Linked DNA regions of Homo sapiens: region 2 is linked to region 1. Evidence: promoter capture Hi-C in 16 types of primary human blood cells and fetal thymus (Javierre and others, 2016). All regions are on one chromosome and are shown on one strand. Each heading gives the region's core, a stretch centred on a gene start or on the middle of the fragment in contact. The rest is flanking DNA. Distances are from core to core; before and after follow the strand shown. Region 1 holds the start of OXR1 (oxidation resistance 1). Region 2 overlaps EMC2 (ER membrane protein complex subunit 2).

Region 1 (3,214 bases), core at 259-2,758:
TAGAAGATTCTCAGTAAAATCTTTCTGATAGAATAAAAATTAAACGCTATCAGTTTCAACATAACAGAAAATTTAAGCTGCGAATGCTCGTAAAGAAATTAGGTAAAAATAATGGAGAACAAAACCCGCAATCGGCTTATCAATCGGCTTACTGTTGACACGCCACGCCACTCAGAATAGTATCTAATTTTCTTGATCCCTTATCTCAGGTAAAGCTATTGACTCGGGGAAATAGGTTATGCGGAAACCATGAAAGTTTCTAGTCTGGCCGACCCTAGGTTCAACACTCTATTATTCCAGACAAGCGATGAGCTCCTGTCGCTAAATTTCAACATCCCTGTCTGTCAAATGGGAATAATAATGATTCTCTCATTGGGTGGCTGTGAGAGGTGAGTGAAACAAGACGGAAATTTGACCCAGGAAATATCTGTACCTCTTACTTTAAAGAACAGAATTAAAAAATAATAATAAATGATCAGAAATTAAGGTAGAATAGAGTGAACACTAATAGCGGGAAATAGCTAATTTGCAGGTGAGGTGGCTGAAAGGCTCCTACGCTTGAAGTGTTTGCTGGATGCACAGGAGATCTGGGATACATCCCGAACTCGGCAACAGGACCAGCTCCTTTCCTCAGGGTTACAGAACAGCCAGGTTCCAGTTCAGGTCTGGGAATCTACCCATCCAGAGTTTGCGCCCTTTTCGTTTTGCAATTTAAAACCGGGTTGGAGGGGGAAGGAGTGAAGGCAGCATGCGGAGAAAGTAAATTACAGTTCAGGTGACAGGAACAAGAAAATCTCCAAGGTCAGGGTGGGGTGTCAACGAATTATGCAAAACACTGCGGAATGAGGAGTCACAAACGCCTTGCAAAGAATTCTGAATTTTAGAAGCTCTTTGCAGAACCCCCTTCAGCCCGCTCCAAGCTGCCTTGGGTCCCTTTCTAGGCTGTCAGACTTCGCCTTCCTTTCCTCCTTGTTTTTCCCAGCAACCAAAGCATCTGAAGAACATTTTTTTCCTCCGTAAATCTGAACAAATTTCCTTGCAGCTTTCCTTGCAGAAGCTTTTTTATCGCTTTAACAAAACTTTCCTCTGCTTCTCTAGGGAGAGCCTAGTATTAGAGCTGCCCGACAGGCGGGACCCCGAAATCGGGGCAGCTCTGGCTTAGTCCAGGCTATTCGAGTGGGCGCCTGAACTGGAGGCGCCGTCTCCACCGGGATGGGGATCCTAGTGCAGGCAGACGCCTGGCAGGACTCGGCGAGCTGGGGTCCCCACCGCGGTAGCCAGAGCAGAAACCCGAACCCCAGCCAGAGGGGCCGCGCGCGGGGAGGGGTGCGCGCTAAGCCAGCGTGGCTTCCGCAGGAGCTATTTTTAGCGGTGCGTGCCTCCCCCCGCCCCCGGCGTGGTAGCCTCCGGCTCGCGGCGCCCCACGGCTCCTCTCAGTCTCCCCCGCCGCTGCCGGCTCTTGGTAGCTTCCACGCGGGCAGGTCCGGAAACTGAGCATGTCTGCAAGCGCTCAGCGGCGCCGGCAGCAGCGGGGCTAGAGCTGGGCTGCGTCAGGCTGAGCCCATTCACCTCGCGGCCACAGGAGCTCAGCGCCGGCGCCGCGCCGCCCAGCCCCGCCGAGAGGGGCGCACTCGCCGCCGCGGGGCCCGCCGCCGCTCACCGCAGCCCCCTCCTGGCGACCCGCAAGTAAGTTTGTGAGGCTGCTGGGCGTTAGGGCGAGGGCTTGGCGCCCGGGGGAGTCCAGGAGGGATAGCGAGAGGCGCGGCTGGCGCCCGGGAGAGCCGGCTGGCCTCTGCCCCCTGTGCCTGGCGCCTCTCCGAGCCACTTAGCCAATTTGAAAGCGGGTGGCCATTGGGATGCTCGAGCGGGGACGACGGGCAGAGCAGGAGGGCAGAACTAGCTCCAGCGGGGGCCCAGAGGGCGGACTTGGGAAGAAGGAAAGACCGCGCGGCGAGGGAGGAGACCGGGCGGCGAGGGAGGAGACCGGGCGGGGAGGCTGGGTTTGGGGCGCGGGAGCCCGGCCAGGGACAGCCGCAGAAGGAAAGTGGGGGTGTCGCCGGGGGATAGAGTGGGAGCAGCGTGAGAGCAGTGTTGGGGGCGCAGAGTGGAGGGCAAGCGTGTCTTGAACAGAACGGCAGGAGGATGGGTGGAAAGTGGGGCGCGTGGAAAGCGGATTTGGACGAGAGCAAAGGACGCCGGTGGAAGGGACAGTGGGCTCCGGAGGGGCGAGTGGATTCGGATAATTTGGGGAATCAGTAAAAGGCTAGGGGGCACATCATGATGGAGTCAGCCTGGAATCTGTCTCCCGCTAGAGTACCCGAGGCCACATGTTGGGAACTGGCTGGGGAAAGGATGGATGTAGAAAGTGGCCTGGAGGGCCGACTGGAAAATCGCTGAGGGATTTGGGTGAAGAGGGGGGGAGCTGTGCAGTATCGGGCGGAGGAACTGGGCTGCTGGTAGGGCCTGAAAGGTTCAGGAGAGGGTTGGAGGCTTCCCCGTGCCGCCCCTTGAATAGTGATTTAGTACTGTTATCTGAGGTTCACTTTCACCCCTGGCTCCTCCTCCGTCTACTACCCGGCTTGGACGCACCTCGGCTCGCTGTAGGCGAGCTTTAGGAGATTTAAATAGACATTAGGCAGTGGGGAAGGTAGTCGTTTACGGGGGGAGCTGCTCGGGCTTCCGTTCAGTGGTTCCCGGCACGCTCAGGGTGCAGTGTAGGGTCTGAATGTGTGTATTGCGGGGGTAGGGGGAGTGGTGTCAGTTCTAGGCCACAGGAATTCGTGGTCTGGCCCCAGAGGTGCGGTGTTTTTGGCCGGGAAGTCAGGCAGAAGTCTGCAGCGTGCAACTCGCAGCGGGGCGTGTGTGTGCGTGTGTGCGCGCGCGTGTGCATGTTTCCGGCCCGGGGTCGCGTGTGTGGCTGCAGCCTGTCTCCGTGACAAGAAGATCCAGGGATCTACGGGCGGCACGGGGAAGGGATTAAGGGGAACATACTTCCCTACGTCTTTTCTGCCTCCTTTTCCCAGGGTAGCATTCTTTGCTTATCCAATGATGCCTCTTTCTAACCTCTCCCTCTCCACTTACATCCCAAACCTGATGCGGGTCTTCTCTGATTCGGCACTCTAAGGAGGACTCAGCCGCCGGCTGCGACCACCGTGGACTCCCTCTATGGAAGGGAATCCTGGGAGTCCCGGCCGTCAGAGGGGTTCCCAAATCC
Region 2 (3,214 bases), core at 456-2,955, 2.2 Mb after region 1:
CGGGTTTCCAGTTTCTTTTCCTTTTAGTCTAGTCTCTGTCCCACTCCTTCTCAAAACACATTTACACACACAACACAACTTCTTTCTTACTCCCTACTAGTAGTTTCTTTTCTGAAGGGAAAAATAACTAATTAACTCTGGGCTACGTAAGTGCTTACGTGTGATGGTCACTTTTCCCTATCCTTAGTTGATCTAGAGTGGGATATGTTCTTTAAATCTGGGAACAGCCAAACCTTGGATCAATTCTGTGTGCTTAAGAAACTTGAGTTTCATTAAGGCGTGGAATTTGTGTAATTGGAATTCATATTCCCAGCATTTAACATAATACAGGAGACTTCAGTAGCTAATTTGCTTAACGAATGCCTTCTTGGGATGTTTTAATAATGACCTGAAAACATGTGGACCGAAAGTTGTATTTTCTGTTTTATCGTGAATAAATATATCAGTTATTATAAAGTTGTAAATCCGTTACAAATAAAGCAAAATTTCTTTGTACTTGAACTGAATTAAATGATTTATTGACTTTATGGCCTCTAGCACGTTGTGAATCTCAGTATTTATACCTGAATTGAGGGATTCCATTATATTAAACAACAGTGTTGATTTCTTACTGCAAAATCTTGGCTCTGTCAACACACAGTCCCCACTTCCAAGGAAGTCACAATCTAATGGAGAAAACAAACCTGTAAACACACAGTTTTAAAAGGCTTGTGTCAGGGTATCTTCCGTAAGCTGAGTCGTAGATAAATGGATGTTATTTTTAATGCTTTTTAAAAAATGTTTTAAATATTACATAATTTTTAGAAAATGCTATTATGAAGGTATGTTCATTATAGGTTTCCTAGATGATAGTAGCATATATAAAATCCTGAGGGACGAGTAGCTGTATACTACCAACAGACAAGGTGATTTAACTGAGTAATTGGACCTTACCCTGTGGTCATTCTAAAGAGGATTGATGTAATTAATTTGGAATAATAAATAATAACTACTACACAAATTTGTAGGAACAAAGAAAACATTTTAAAGTGCTTTGTAAACTGTTAAGTACTATATAAAAGGATGTGTTACTATTAGCTAGTGCTAATATGATTATGTCCTTCCTCTGTATGATCTGGCGGTTGCCCATGTCTCCAGCTTTATCTTGAGCCCTTCTCCCTCTCACTTTGTGAGCTGCCTATGCTGGCCTTTGTTGAATACCCTAAATTGCCATGCTGCTTCTTAAAGCTGGCACATGCTAGTCCTTCCACTGGGAGTGTTCTTCCCTCCTTGCCTCACTCTTGCCCCCATTAAACTTTATCATTTATCAATTCCCCACAAAGCTCACCTACTACAAAAAAGCCTTACTTGACCACTCTACTACCCCCTTCCCTTTCCTCATCCCCCACCAAAATTGAAAAAAAAAACCCAAACAATAAAATGAAGCAACAAAACACACCTGCAATCCTTCGATTATGTATTCTATTCTAATACTATTGAAGCACTTACCCAATTGTGTTTTGTTTTAAAATTTTGTCTCTCCTAAGATGAAAGGGACCAGGCCTGTTTCTTCACTGTCACTTCCCTAGAGCCTGACACATGGGGGCGGAGCTCAGTAATTATTTGATGACTAAATGAATTGTTAATGAGATTAATAATAAACACTAACACATTGTCAGAAAAGATTATAAGCCATTTTTCTAGCGTTGAAATAATTTCTTTAGTATCTTAGATACAGGTTTTAGTATCATTCTTCTCTTAGCTTGAAAATGACCTTTTTAGAGAAGCCTTCTCTGACCACCCTTTCCAAAAGCTCCTCCTTTCTCCCAATCTCCTGACTTTATCATATGGTCTTTTAGTTTTATTTGTATAATTTCACTATCTGAAGTTATGTGGATTTTCATCTTTTTACCCTATTATACTCTAAGCATTATGAGTATATAGGAACTTTATCTTTTTCTTTCTTTCTTTATCCTCAGTGCCCAGATCAGGCCTGGCACATAGGCATTTAGGAAATATTAGTTGAGTGATGAAGAACTCCAATATTTACTCCAAGAAGTAAATATTAGTGGAATAATGAAGTATAGTTCCAGTCATACACTATACTGCCTCAAAGAAGGTAGGAATCATTGGGTATCTTAAGAATTTACATTGTAATGAAGTAAATCTTTAGAAATATCTGGTAGTAATTTACAGATTGAATTTGGGTTGAGAGATCAGTTTGGAAGCTATCCTAGCAATTTTAGCATGGGGTGATGAAAGCCTGGGCATGGATAATAGCAGTGGAAATAGAGTAGAAGATGTAAATCTTCGAAATACTTCGAAATACTTCAAAACAATCCACAGGACTTAGATATACAAAACTCCCACAGTGGGAGTCAGAAACAGCACTAAAAAATGGAATGTCAGGTAGTATTAACAGAAGGTGGAATTAACAGAAATGTGAACATTGGGAAGGGAGGCCATATTTTTAGGAAATGAAGATGACTTGATTTTCGGATGCTGTGATTTTGAGGTAATGAGCTATCAAAGGTGAAAACATGTTTTCTTCAAGATGGTTTTATTTTTACAAATAATTTTTTTAGATAAATGTATTTAAGGCATTTCTAAAAGTAGTATGTGGTTAATAGTGCTACAAATGTATTTATTACAGCAGCACTCAAGAGTGTGGCAGGGTCAGCTATGTAAGGTGTATAGCTTAAGGTGTTTATAGGTAAAATGTTGCTTGTTTTGTAAGTTATATTTTCATACACAGTGTTTCTTGTTTTGTGTTCAGCTATTATATTTTAATATGTGACTGTGTGTCAGACTGCCGTTCTTAGAAGTTATGCTTTAAAAAAAGTTCTCTTTCCTATGAGTGTTTTTTCACAATAAGAAACACCTTTTACAAATTAACTCATACTCAATTAAGTATACCTATACATGAATCTTTGAGTGTATGTATAAACTGAAACCAAAGTTGCATTTACAAAGGATTCTAATGAGTATTGCTTCCATTCTGTTCATTTTGTTTCATTCTCCCCCACTGCCCCCCCACCCCCAACAGATGCTGGAAGAAATCCACTGAACCGATTTTATACCCTATTAATGGATTGTAATACACAGTTTGAAAAATACGTCTTCTGGAGCTCTGTGTGCATTAAAATAAATTAACCCTTTCCTTTTTCAAATCAGGTTGCCTTTTCTTTTAGAATAGCTGTTCCCAACAGCCTGCAGCCAATCTGACTAGATACTT

Evidence for each region. The method cuts DNA at HindIII sites, captures the fragments that hold promoters and counts their contacts. A CHiCAGO score of 5 or more calls a contact.
Region 2: a fragment that was not itself captured here is called in contact with the fragment with the promoter of OXR1 in region 1 in 1 of 17 cell types (naive CD4 T cells); the score reaches 7.1 in naive CD4 T cells.

What each region holds. Positions count from the first base shown.
Region 1 is chr8:106,268,682-106,271,895 of GRCh38, forward strand. OXR1 (oxidation resistance 1) reads left to right here and starts at 1,509. Exons shown (of 17, transcript NM_001198533.2): 1 at 1,509-1,686. RefSeq lists silencers at 1,234-1,483, 1,504-1,863. The HindIII fragment of the contact is 2,469 bases long and covers 1,056-3,214 here.
Region 2 is chr8:108,444,204-108,447,417 of GRCh38, forward strand. All of the region lies in intron 1 of EMC2 (ER membrane protein complex subunit 2), which reads left to right. Among named protein-coding and RNA genes, the nearest start is that of EMC2, 2.2 kb to the left of the region's middle. The HindIII fragment of the contact is 3,715 bases long and covers 1-3,214 here.